Linked DNA regions of Homo sapiens: all the other regions are linked to region 2. Evidence: promoter capture Hi-C in 16 types of primary human blood cells and fetal thymus (Javierre and others, 2016). All regions are on one chromosome and are shown on one strand. The core of a region is centred on a gene start or on the middle of the fragment in contact, and the rest is flanking DNA. Distances in the headings are between cores, read along the strand shown.

Region 1 (4,249 bases), core at 820-3,319, 70 kb before region 2:
GTAAGTGAGAGCTAAACATTAAGCAGACATGGACATAAACATGGGAACAATAGATGCTACAGACTACTGGGGACGAAAGGGAGGGGCTATAGGTAGAAAAATTACCTATTGGGTACTGTGCTCACTATCTGCATAGCAGGATCCATATCTCAAACCTCAGCATCATGCAATATACTCATGCAGCAAACCTGCACACATACGCCATATCTGCAATAAAAGTTGAAGTTTGGGGAAAAAAAGACAATAGAAGAGCAATGAACCAAGCACAAGACCCTTCAAAGCATGTGGCCCTGCAAGACCGTCCAGGTCACATGCCCATGAAGCCAGCTTGGGTGGTAAAGCATAGTTGGTTAAGCATGAAGAGATATTTTTAAATATTTCTGTATGATTTTCATTTTTACAGTGTGTGAGCACTGTTTTCTTAATCTAAAAGTCTGTATTTGAAAAGGTTGTATAAATTAGAACCAAGGCAGAGGCAGTGGAAATGCAGAGGGGAGAGCCTGAGAAAGATATTTTTTTTTTATTCAGAATCACAGGAGTTAGCCAAAAACAGTCAGGTGTATACACTCATATTTCACACAACACAGAGATAATTGCGTAAACATTCACAAATACAACTATGACTAGCACTTATTTTAAGAAAGCTTCACTTATGAATAGGAGTAGGTGAGCAAAGGGTTTTCCCGGTACATCTATTTCTTACTTTCCATGAGAATGATAAAAATATACAAAACAATCCTGTAATTTTTCTCTTTCATTACTAAGACAAATAAGTTCTCATCCTACCCAGAATGTTCTATAATCTCCAACCCATTCCAAAGACAAATAAATGTTAAAGCATAACAGTTACAAAAATAGAAATACAACTAATATATTTTGTTTTCTATACACATTATATACTGACCTTTTTTACCTCTCTTCCTACCATGTTATATATTCAATGAAAGTAACATTATTTGAGCAACATTATACAGAAATTTCTTCCACATATACATAAGGACAGCAGGACATTAATGGAGTAGGAAAAGTCTCAGGCTGGCAATCAGGAAGCCTAAGCTACAGTTCTGATCCCACCAGATGAAATGATTCTTTTAGATATTAAACTCATCAGATTAACTGTGCTGCCCCATATCAGCAATGTTGCAATATCAGTTACCCTAATATGTTACCACAGAGTAGAGTCCAGCTGAACACTTAAAAAGTTAACTTCTGAATACTTTTTACAACTTTTTTGATATTATGTTGTTCATTCATTCAATGTTTGTTGAACCAAATATCTGTTCCAGGAGCACATATATGATCCTTCAAGGTGCTCAGTTTCTAGTGGAAGAAGACAAATGAGAGAAACAATCATTGCAATATAGCACAATAATTGCAATAGTAGAAAGTAGAGGTGGGCACTGGATCCAGCCTGGAAAGATCTAGAAAAGTTGCCAGAAGAAAATTGCCTAGGCAGAGTGGTGTTTGCAGTGAAAGGCAATCTATGAGTCACATTACTTTGAAAGAAGTTAATTGAACTAGAAAAATACGGATATTTATTTTTTGCAAAAGCATCTACTCTGAGAATCCTATCACTCAAGCCTTATGCTGCTGTCTTTGATTTGCTTTCTACTGGAGGAACAGACAATGGAGTGCTAAGAAGGCAGGAACTACCTATGAGAAGGCACTAGAGAAGATTCTGAGGTTCCCACTTCAGTGTGCTCCAGTTCACATATCTTGGATTATGTAAAATTGTGTACGTACCTAAATACACAGTTTTAACAATATAGTTGCCTTCCTGAAGACTTTCAATTAATATGTAAAATTCGAATTTTTAACAGTGAGAATCCAGAAGTTTCACTGTTGCCAGGAATAAATAGTTCAAAATATTGTGCTACAAAAACTTTATTTTCAATGCTAATCACATCACAGCAAGCTTCTACTTTGGGAACATATTAAAGTGAATTGTCTCTCTCTGAAGAATTGAATTAAAAGGCAATGGAATTTGGCCAGGGCATTGAGAACTATTAGAAAGTTAGGCCTTCAAATAGTGCTCTGCTTTCTTTAGAATCTCTAAGTAGTAATTTCTCTCAGCTGAATTTCCTTATGTTGTTATTGTGACCTTTTATATCTTTTTCCTACTGTTGTACATTGATGAATGCCAAGACTGTACTTGCAAATAGAAGCCCACCTGCCTATAGGGAAGGAACAAGACACAAATCAGTGGAGATCTGAAAAGGTGCTCAAGCTTCTAGTAATTTTGACCAGGAATCTAACCACACTTAATGGCCTGTGAGCAGGATCATACTTCATATACCTCAGTCATTTGTCTTCATTGCAGCAACATGAACAGGAGGCTGATCTTGGGTGGAAAGTTGGAACAAGTTTTCCCCCTCTGAACATTAGGTGAATATAGGACACTTTTGAACTCTAAATGTATCCAAATAATTTCATTTATAGATTTATTTCACTTACAAGTTTTTGTATATGTACATAGGTTTTGTGATATACAATTGTGTTGAATTAAAGGAAAATCAATTGAAAAAAAGCAAGCTATGTATTAAATGATATGTTCACACATTTCTTTAAATAGATACCTACCTCTTTATAAATGCTGAATGGAACACATAGAAATTATGAGAACATAATTTTGTAATCACAGGGTAAAATATGTAGGAAATAGTTTAGAAATATGACAATCAAATTTACAACTGCAAAAACTTAGAAGCCTGACCTAACTGAATTAAACAAGCCTTTATTTTGTTTGTCAGTGGAAAACAGTTCAGAATTTAAGCCAGTAATAAAATATCTGAGAGGAGGGTGCAATTAAGAAAGGGAAATATAAAAAGGCAATATTTACAAAAAGTACTTAAACTCAGCTGTTAAAACAGGGAATGTAACTTAAATTTTTAAGTAATGTTTTCATGTTAAGTAGTGTCTTGGACTTAAAGGTGTTTAAATTTTCAAAGTGTGGCTAATTTAAAATAATATGTTCTGACTAATATGTGAATTCCATTATGGTTACGTAATTCATTATTGCCTGTCAGTTTCAGTAAATCAGTCAGATATAAGGAAAGAGTGCACCTCACTCTTACCAGGAAATGATGACTTACACATGATGCCCTCCTTCGCATTCAATAAATACTACAACAATCCAGAGATAATGGCAATGTAGACAAATAATTTTGTTCCAAGCAGCTAGAAGAGCTATGCCTAGGTGATGTTGTAGAGTTGCTTGCTTCGCGTTTTTTTTTTTTTTTTTTTTTTTTTGCCAAATTTTATGTCTGAGAGTGATTTGCCTAAGTGTCAATCTTATATTTGTTTTTGACTGCAAACATCAATTTGGCTGCTCATCTACATCCAACTTAATTAAAATGCACAATTGGAAAACATTTATTGTAACCGCATCACATTTCACAGAGGGATGCTTTGTTGAGCTAGTTTTTCATCATGACCTAAATATCATTAGCCGTCTGACCAGTCTCAGCTTCATATTACAACTGAACCACCCCTTTCATCATTTAGAAATGCATGTTTATCTTAGGAGATCAGTGGTTTTCGACCTTAGGGCTCATCAGTATCACTGTAGAGCTTTCTAAATATGTGGGTTATGCTTGGCTCTGGACCTAGATGTAACAAATAAGACTCCTCCTTACCTCACTTTTATTTCCCTTATCTATAGCAATGTGAAAGCTCTCCAGTAAACAGGCATTACCTGGATTCATGGACAATTAGCTCTTACTGCACTCCTATATAACTTCCCCTTTGGGAAGGTTCTAGTGGGTTCCTGTTAACTAGGCTCAGTCTTGTGTTGAAATCTACGTGCACTTTATTGGATCCAGAGAAAAGCTACCACTTCTGTAAATATTGACGATAAAACTGATGTGATGCAGGAGGAAAGAAAGGAAAAAGGAAAATGATTTTAATTTTTTTTCTTTTTCTTTTCTTATCTATTAATACTACATGTATCCAATTCTCTTCCTGCCGCAACAGATCAGAAGACTCTGAGAAGCTAACGAGTTATACTACCTTTGTATTGATTCAACCTAGATAGCCACCAAATCTCCTTTTATTTCCAACTTGATTCTTTAACTATGTCCTGGTTACTTTTGGTGATGCTGGAGTAAAGAGGTTATGGATTAAAATATTTAAAAGTCTAAGTATTATCATTGTTAGTTCCCTTCATGAAGAAACAAAATGAGATAAAAATCATTTCATTGTACATTTAAATTAAAAGTTCCCAAAGTCTTGCTTGTATTTTTACCAATAA
Region 2 (4,317 bases), core at 1,017-3,516:
GTAAGTGCTATCCCCACTTTCTAACCCATAACAGAGACTCAATATATGTTTTTGATTTTTTAAAAAATCAAACACCTCTTTAAAACATCTACCACCGTTGGCCCTAAAATCAGCCTAAGGTATGGATATTGTCCAGCACCCCCAACCCGGAGATTGCCTCCCCACTTCCAATTCCCCTTGAAATGAAGTAAAAACTGTAGTTCCAGCATTTAGGCCTCTTACATATCCACTCAGGATGTTCCTCATTGTTAATTCACTCAATAAATTTTGTTCAAAAACAGGATCTTATGTACTAGGCCCAATGGCAGGGGTACAGCAATGAATCCGCCATTGTCCCTCTTGGAGAAGCTCACAGAATAAAGTGAGCTTGGATGAAGGCTCTGACTTTCAGAGAGGCCACTAGCCGTTAGCCAAAATATTTCTGGATCAGTATCTACATCCTATCATCAACTTGACTCCTCGACTCTTTAAAATGTGGCTTTAGAACCTGGTACATAGTGTACACTCAATAAACATTTGTTGGATAAGGGAGTGAATGGGATAGGATGAAAATTTCAGTGAGCTTTTATTGCTCACTGATTGATATAGGAGATAAGCAGCTAATGCTATCTAATCCTTTTTTTTTTTTTTTTTTTGAGTCGGAGTCTCACTGTGTGCCATAGGCTGGAGTGCAGTGGCGCTATCTCAACTCACTGCAACCTCCACCTCCTAGGTTCAAGCAATTCTCCTGTCTTAGCCTCCCGAGTAGCTGGGATTACAGGCATGCACCACCACACCCAAATAATTTTGTATTTTTAGCAGGGACAGGGTTTCACCATGTTGGCCATGCTGGTCTTGAACTCCTGACCTCTGGTGATCCGCCCATCTTGGCCTCCAAAAGTGCTGGGATTACAGGTGTGAGCCACTGCACCTGGCCCCAAATCCTTTATTTAAGTAATTTTGGCTTTGGGTACCCACTGAGCTGATACGTCCACCATGGGAATGTATTAACACTTCAAAAGATCTCTAAGGACAGATAATGCTTCTTAGAAACATTTCTTGTGTCTAATTAGGTGAGGCAGGCTTTCCCAATACCACAGCTAAACACGTTGCACTTGCCTTCAGATAACTCTCGGAGACCTTCCATCCTACAAAACACTGATTAACTAACCTTCCAAATCTGCCAGTAACTGGAACACTTCCTGCTTCTGAACTATCTTCGGCTCCAGGGAGTACCCTGCTAGATTCTTTAATCTCTCTTACTGATCATCTAAACGTATTTTCTTTTACACTTGTGTATGGTTTATTTGTACAGTTGTGGGAAGAGAGCTTGTCTTTATAAATTCCCACAGGACTAGGCACACAGCAGGTATTTAATAAGTACGTTTTTAAAAATGTGTCTTCCATGTGTAGCCCTGTCCTGCAGGGACGCATCGGGTAGGTGGCAAAGGGGTGCCCAATCCTAGCGAACTTTCAACTGAGGTTGGGGGAGAAGGGCAGGGACCCTCCCACCATGAGAATCGTAAGGTAGGACTGGAGAAAAAGATCAGAGCACATCTCTCATGTACTCTAGAACTCTCCAGAAACCTCTCACTTTCTTTGTCCCCATCTTCTGCAGGGGACTTACAGCGTTCTCAGGGACTGCAGGAAATAAGACAAATAGGGAAAAGGAAATCACAGAGCACGATTGAAATATGGCAGATGAGATGCTAGACTGGAATCTTCTCTTTCGCTCAAAATAAATGCATACATAAATGACAGTGATTGTAAGCCTGACAGCACTTCACCCACTCTCTAAAGTCTCCTGACAGTGGGACCTCAAGCAGGGGACTGGAAGGTTAATTTGTTCGGTACCAACTCTGACTCAAAAAGATTATTCTCCTGTGAGGTGAAGGAGAAGAAAAAAAGGTCAGTGACATTTTCCAGCCACTACACCCAGAGGGTAACCCAGATGTTGGTGGGATGGGTGGGACTCATCAAACCCACGCTTTCCCCCAAGGTTGCTAAGACAGAGCGTCCTGTTAGTCTTCGGGTTGAATCAACCCCACAACGACCCGTTCTAAGGAGACTGTGACAGCAGGAAAGGTCATGACACACCCAGGTCTGGACACGCTGTCCCTGAGGCCAGTGCCCGGAGCGCCCCCCGCGGAGCCGCTCTCCACCAATAAGAGCCTGAGGTCCCGAGATGATGAGATGCGGGGCCGCTGCTCAGCCAATCAGGCTCCAGGCGCGGCCAGGGGGAGGAGATGGGAGGAGAGGCCGGGGGCGATGGAGACGCGGATACATCAACAGAAGTTTCTCACCTAGGAATGCGAGGGGCGCTCCCGCATCTCCTGCACATCTCCACCCCTGCGCAGGAGGAGATCCCCAGGCTGCTCTCTCCATCTCTCCTACAGCTCCCTGCAAACGAGGGGGAAGCTGCTGAGAGTCCCTATCACTGCTGGCCTTTTAATGTTGTATGCAAGGAGGAAGAGGGCGAGGGATAACTTGGTGCTGGACAACTGACCTGCGGCCCGAAGGGCCTCTGGGGAGGGGGTGCAAAAGAGGAGCGGCTGGGCTGGGGGACTCCATGCGGGGGCGATGGACAGGGCGGCGCTCCTGGGACTGGCCCGCTTGTGCGCGCTGTGGGCAGCCCTGCTCGTGCTGTTCCCCTACGGAGCCCAAGGAAACTGGATGTGAGTATGGAGGTGGCAGGGAAGCATCGGGTAGGTGGCAAAAGGGGTGCCCAATCCTAGGGAACTTTCAACTGAGGCTGGGGGAGAAGGGCGGGGACCCTTAGACGAGTGACCTAATTTTTCGGAAAACATCTGGAATTGGGGAGCGGCTTAACGCTACGGGCGGCCGTGTCTTACAGGTGGTTGGGCATTGCCTCCTTCGGGGTTCCAGAGAAGCTGGGCTGCGCCAATTTGCCGCTGAACAGCCGCCAGAAGGAGCTGTGCAAGAGGAAACCGTACCTGCTGCCGAGCATCCGAGAGGGCGCCCGGCTGGGCATTCAGGAGTGCGGGAGCCAGTTCAGACACGAGAGATGGAACTGCATGATCACCGCCGCCGCCACTACCGCCCCGATGGGCGCCAGCCCCCTCTTTGGCTACGAGCTGAGCAGCGGTGAGTCCTGGGTCCTTAGGGGTTGGTGGGGGACGGAAGGCGACAACTCCTCCACCGGTTCCTGCAAATAAAGTAAATAGTGCTACGTGGTCCTGTAGCTCTCTAAGTTCCAGAAGAAGCCCTTTAGTGCACGGGGATTGAGAGCTACAAAGGCCAGACCTGGGGAGCAGGTGCGAGCCTGGAGGGAGGTGACTCCCCAGTTCCAGAGCGGAGCTCTAGGGGCTGGAGCTCTTCCTCTTTCCTGCGGTGCCCCGCCAGAGTTGGAAAAAAAACTCTAATTCTCCTACCCCGCCGACCCCCTCGGACCCCGTAGCGCCCCCCTACGTGGGTGACCAGCTGGAGAAACATGATGTCGGCAGCGGGGAATGCGGCTGCCGCATCTGCTTTGATTTAACCAACTCCGCTGCGCACCAAACCCCGGACAAGTGGCTAATTGCAGCGAAGCCCCACCTTTATTGGCTCCTAGGAGCACCGAGTTGACAGAATAATGGTGACTTTTAAAGCGACTGTCCGCGACCACCCAACGTGCGGCTAACCTGAGCAGGACCACTTGTGCGCTTCTCGTTTCTTTGGCTTTTCTATCTTTCCCTCCTCGGCGCACTCCCGCGGCGCGGGAAGCTGCAGGAAAACAAAGTTCCACTTCCACGTGCGTAGTGACTTGGTAAGGATAAAGGTACAGGGAGCCAGGATTGTTCCTGGAATATCAACAGATCCAAAGAATGTTAGGACTGGGGCGCTGAAGGATGCGCTGTCGTTTTTCATGTTCATTTCCGTTCCCCCTCCGCCTTTGACCCTTGTCCACGCAGTCCCTGCGCGCACCCCCGCCGAGCCGCGCACCTCCCCCGCGGCGTTCTGGCCGGCACGCCCTTCCGAAGGAGCCCTGGTCCCCGTAGAGAGAAAAAAAAAAAAAAAAAAAAAAGAGACAGAAAGAAAAAAAATAGATGTGTTTTTCACAGTTGCTGAAATGCATCAGCTGTTGAAAAGGTTTATTGGACAGCGGGCATGAAACTGTTTCTACTCCAAACTAAACATCTGGAAAGAAAAAAAAAAAGTCGCCTGCTGATTCCCTTCTAGTCCATGTTATTAATGTTTTAATGGACTTTAATTTTCAAAGATTTTAGCTCAAACTCTACTGCAGGTGTGCTAAATGCATAATTTTCAATATTCAATATTTTTAATAGAATTATGTTTTTGCTAGTGACATTTTAATTATCTTACCTTTCATTGCCTTTA
Region 3 (4,849 bases), core at 75-2,574, 86 kb before region 2:
GATAATCTTTATTTTGCCATTCAAAAACCAGCATCTCTCCTAAATTTTCTGTTGTTTCTTTTAGCAGTACGGCCATTCTCTACAACCAGAAACTTTAGAAACATCTTTCACATAGCAGACCCTCGTTTTCTCCAAGATATGCAGTCAGTTCTTCTGGCTCACTCCTGTCAGGCCCATCTCTTCACTGTACCTAAAGTACCACTCCTTCCAGGTCTTCAAATCTTATCTGTCCCTAAAGGCCTGTTCACATATTATCTGCTTCATGGACCCTTCCAGAAAACTCTGACCTCCATGACTCTTTCTCTATTTGGAACAATTGTGGCTCACTGAGAGTAGAGGTGGGAAAATACATAAAATATATATGTTGACTATTAGGTAATCAGGCACTATGGCAGGTGTTATACATATTTTCCTTGTGGAGAAGTAAATTTAATCATGAAAAGATTAAGTAATTTGTCTAATTTAAACAGTGAGTTTTATCCTTGGCAGCATATTGGAATCACCAAAGAAGCATTAAAAAATACTGATTTCTGAGCCCCATCCCCATTGATTCTGATTCAATGTCTGGGGTACAATCTGGGTGTGGGAATTTTTAAAAGCTTTCCAAGTGACTCTAATATGTAGTCAATGTTGAGGTCCGCAGGGCCAGTTGGAGATAGAGCCCAGGTGTGCATGCTCTCCAAAGCCCCAACTCTTTACCACACAGATATTTTTACTCCATTATGCATTACTTGTTTTTACGCTATAGTTATTCTATATTACGTATAAATTATAATCTTCTAACCTGAGTATAAATTTTTGAGGTTTAGCATTATAGTTAAGAGCATGGACTCTGGAGCTGACTGCCCTGCTCAAATCCTAGTTCTACTACTTACTAACTAGAGGATCTCAGACAAGTTCCTGAGCCCTGGTTAAGGAGATGATAACAGGGTTGTTGATGTTTAAATATGTTGATAAATTAAAGTTTTCAGAATATTCCTAGCATTTGGGAGGTACTGAAAAATGTCAACTATTCTTTAAAAATTATTATGATATTTTAACACCAATAATGCCTAACACTTCAACAGAGTATATACTTAATGTATTAAACTTAAATCCTTCTGGAGAGTCATATGTATATGGAGACATAAAGGTTAATTTATCATTCCTGAAATTGCATAGAAAGTATTTAGTAGATAGACATTTAATAAAGCAGTTTTCTGTAATCCTCATTACATGTAAAAATCAAAGAAAAGGAAAAAATGGTGGTAAGAAGAACAAATGACTCTGCATTCCTTTTGAAAATTTGGTATTTCTCTTCCAGTTGACATTGTACCCCTCAAAGTTATTGTATATTTTCTTTCCTTTCCTGGAGTTCATACTTTTCTCATCTCCTTTCCCTCCGATTTTCTTTTATCTCTTCCAGTTTCTCTCTCTTAATATACCTACATTTCTTTCTCTTTCTGTGTTCAATCAGTAAGAGCCATAAACTATATCATCTTTCATATTTTATATTAATAACTATTTCCACATACACAAACACATTCACAATTCTAACATCCCTGAAGTCATGAATATAAAATGCACTATATTCATCTCCTAAAAACAGAAATCCTTTCCCCTAAAATTAATATAACACCAGATACCATTATTAGCAGTACCACTAATCAAAGCCAGAATGGACAAAGTTTTTAAGTTTTTTCCTTTCTAACTCAAGAACTATCTGGGTGATATTTAGCTCCTCAGTTTTGAAGGGTAAACATATACTAGTAACATAAGCAAGATATTTAGGGTAAGGAGAGTGATTATCAGAGAAATAATTGCATATGTTCTCCAACAAGGAGAGAAATAACCACTCCATATTTGTTCATATGATGTGCTATGTTCACACTCAATTCCTGAAACGATGAACAAGGAAAAAAAAACAAAAAAATTATATTTTTCTACCACATTATTAATGTATCCACTCACACTAAAAGCTGAAGTGTTTTGCATGAATGTTGTTTTATCAGTAAAACAGGAAAGATCTTAAATGCATAGAGAATATTCATTTATTTTATAAACATTTGCTAAAGCTTGGGACCTACTTTCTACCTGAACTCTGTTAGTAACAAAAGATGAATACAATATTGCAAATGTGTCTTAAATACATTATTCCATTACATTGTTACACCAATCATGTGAGAAGAACTGTACACACCTCATCTAACAGATGAAGAAATTCAGGCAACAGCTAGAAAGAGGTGAAGACATTCACACGAAAAAGGCCATCAATCAAATCAAAGAAAAATAACTAATCTTCAAAATAATAAATTATCATCATACTGAAGTAGTTCTCTTGTATCTTAAATCCCTTGAGAGCAGGGAATAGATCTATTATACTTATGGACAGAGAACCTATGCATGTGTTAGGCTAATAAATATTTGAGGCTAACTGCCAATTTGTGGGGCTCCCAGTCTATTAATGCTTTGGTCTTACTGAAGTGTTCAATGTACTGTTTAAAAATAGGTAATGATTGAGTAATACTTAGATTTTTAATAAGTATAAGGTTTCATGGAACAGAGCTCATACTTGATTTTAGCATGAAATGTGTTATTTCAGAACATTACTTAATGTTGCTATTCTATTTGGTTGGCAGGAAGCCATGCCTTCATTATTCCACTAGATTTAAAGGATAAGGATGGTCTTACTATAATTTCTGAAATGGTGTGCCATAGCTGAATTTTAAAGTTACTTACAAACTTCACCAGCAGAAACAGAACCAAAGAAAGTTTTGCCATCTATTCCAGGCCAGTGGATTGTGCCTTGCCTTAGTTGTTCGGACAACAGGACGTGTGACTGGAGAGAAATAACCTGGCAGCCCCACAACTGCCAATATGGTGTCCTAACTAAGCCTCAACTCCAGCAGTGCCTGGGAGGAAGGAAGGTAGGTTCTGGATCTAGTGGGGGAAGCCTTTAATGTATGCCACCTGAAGTACTAAAAATCGTATAGTTGTATCTACTAGACCAATTCCTGCTGTCTCACAGCAGAGGAAAACTAACTGAATGCAATATGGCTTTTTGAATCATGTATAGATGTTATCATAGAATAGCCTGAACAATTCCCGCTCCAAATGTTCAGTTTTCTCCAAGTAACTCTGTTTGACAGATGGAGGATATTAAAGTCTTGTCCTATGCTGACCCGATTCCATGCTGTTTTCTCAGCACAAATTGGTAGGAGCTTGCCACGTCAACTGACAGTTGGCAGTTGAGAGCAGCTGGCCTTGTCAACTGCAGCTCTGGCAGGCACTGCTGTGAAAACAGACATCTGCAGCTCAGCACAGGAAATCAAAAGGTCCTGCATGTGAGACTCACTTCTAGAGCTTTCCAAGTGCATGGGATTGTTTTTACGCACTAACCTTACTGATCTTCTTTCATATTCCTGGGCAGGTCTCACATGGACCTCACTAGGCTGATTTTTCCTTTAGTGAGGCTTCTAAGCTGATTTCTGGGACATGCAGTGTCTTCTTGCTAGGCATGCTCTGACTAGGTAGAGTCTGGCAGAACTCTCGGATATGCAAAATGGGCACATAGACTGAGATGCTTGGTTAACATCAAGTAAGTAATCCTTAACCCAATTTTCAAAGTGCTTTTTATTAGATGGACATTTCCTTATACAGTTTGTAAGCTCTCACACATGAGCAAGACTGATTTCAAAAGCTGATTTTCACAAAGCTCTATTAAAACACATAGAAAAAAAGGCCTGGGCAGAAGGTATGCCAATTTACTAGCAAATAGTTAAAGAAGAATAACAGGAGCTGAGGGGCAGGACAGAAAGATGGACATCTTCTTCATGGTGATTTCAATATAAATGTTCCAATTTTCATGATTGAGAATGTCTCTAAAGATCAATCAGTAGTGTTAGTTCCTTTTTTTAAAAAAAGAAGGGAAGAAAATCATTTAGGAACTTATGTTGCAGTGTTATTAATTGAGCATTGATTTTGTGCAAGAAACTGTGTTTCTTGCTAAATTTGTTACACTTTAAATCCCACCAGACTGTAAGCTTCAAAAGGGCAGGGAATGTGTTTAATCCACCGCCATAATCTCATTGTTGAGCATAATTTTTGACGCAGAATAGTAACTTAATAAATATTTATCAAGTAAATGAATAAATTAAAAGTGTATTTATTCCTAATTGCAGCTAAGGTAGATATTATCATATCTTTTTTCTGCTTAAGATAAGTAAAGCTCAGAGAGATTGAGTAATTCACTGATGATCATACATGTATGGGTGTGGCTACTCCACAGGCATTTTTTTTTTTTTTGTCTCACACTGTCACCCAGGCTGGAGTGCAATGGCGTGATCTCAGCTCAATGCAACCTCCACCTCCTAGGTTCAAGCGCGTCTCCTGCCTCAGCCTCCCGAGTAGCTGGGATTACAGGCGCCTGCCACCACGCCTGGCTAATTTTTTGTAATTATAGTAGAGACGGGGTTTCACTATGTTGGCCAGGGCTGGTCTCGAACTCCTGACCTCAAGTGATCCACCCGCCTCGGCCTCCCTAAGTGCTGGGATTACAGGTGTGAGCCACCATGCCCAGCCCTCCACAGGCATTTTAAACCATCACCTTGGATAATCCAGCCTCCATATCCTATAAATGTTGCACTGGGAGCAATGACAATAGCTGTTGCCACACAGCCAGACTTCTCTAAGCTCAGAATACCATTCTGACCTCAGAATTTAGGGTGTTCAGAAAAATTCCAAGAAACTGTCACAGTCTATTAACCTGAAAAGCAGTAGATGTTCATTTAAGTTCATCACTAAATCCTACGGTTTTGGACACGACACGTCTTGTTTCTCAGGCTCATTTTCTTCATCTGTAAAATAACCC

What was found. The method cuts DNA at HindIII sites, captures the fragments that hold promoters and counts their contacts. A CHiCAGO score of 5 or more calls a contact.
Region 1: a fragment that was not itself captured here is called in contact with the fragment with the promoter of WNT16 in region 2 in 1 of 17 cell types (total B cells); the score reaches 5.1 in total B cells.
Region 3: a fragment that was not itself captured here is called in contact with the fragment with the promoter of WNT16 in region 2 in 1 of 17 cell types (total B cells); the score reaches 6.3 in total B cells.

What each region holds. Positions count from the first base shown.
Region 1 is chr7:121,257,000-121,261,248 of GRCh38, forward strand. The region is part of intron 18 of CPED1 (cadherin like and PC-esterase domain containing 1); the gene reads left to right. The region is part of intron 1 of LOC124901735 (a long non-coding RNA gene); the gene reads right to left. Among named protein-coding and RNA genes, the nearest start is that of WNT16, 70 kb to the right of the region's middle. The HindIII fragment of the contact is 312 bases long and covers 1,914-2,225 here.
Region 2 is chr7:121,326,734-121,331,050 of GRCh38, forward strand. WNT16 (Wnt family member 16) reads left to right here and starts at 2,267. Exons shown (of 4, transcript NM_057168.2): 1 at 2,267-2,654; 2 at 2,834-3,084. The coding sequence starts at 2,560. The HindIII fragment of the contact is 8,913 bases long and covers 1-4,317 here.
Region 3 is chr7:121,241,433-121,246,281 of GRCh38, forward strand. It overlaps CPED1 (cadherin like and PC-esterase domain containing 1), which reads left to right. Exons shown (of 23, transcript NM_024913.5): 18 at 2,770-2,906. All of the region lies in intron 1 of LOC124901735 (a long non-coding RNA gene), which reads right to left. Among named protein-coding and RNA genes, the nearest start is that of WNT16, 85 kb to the right of the region's middle. The HindIII fragment of the contact is 1,455 bases long and covers 598-2,052 here.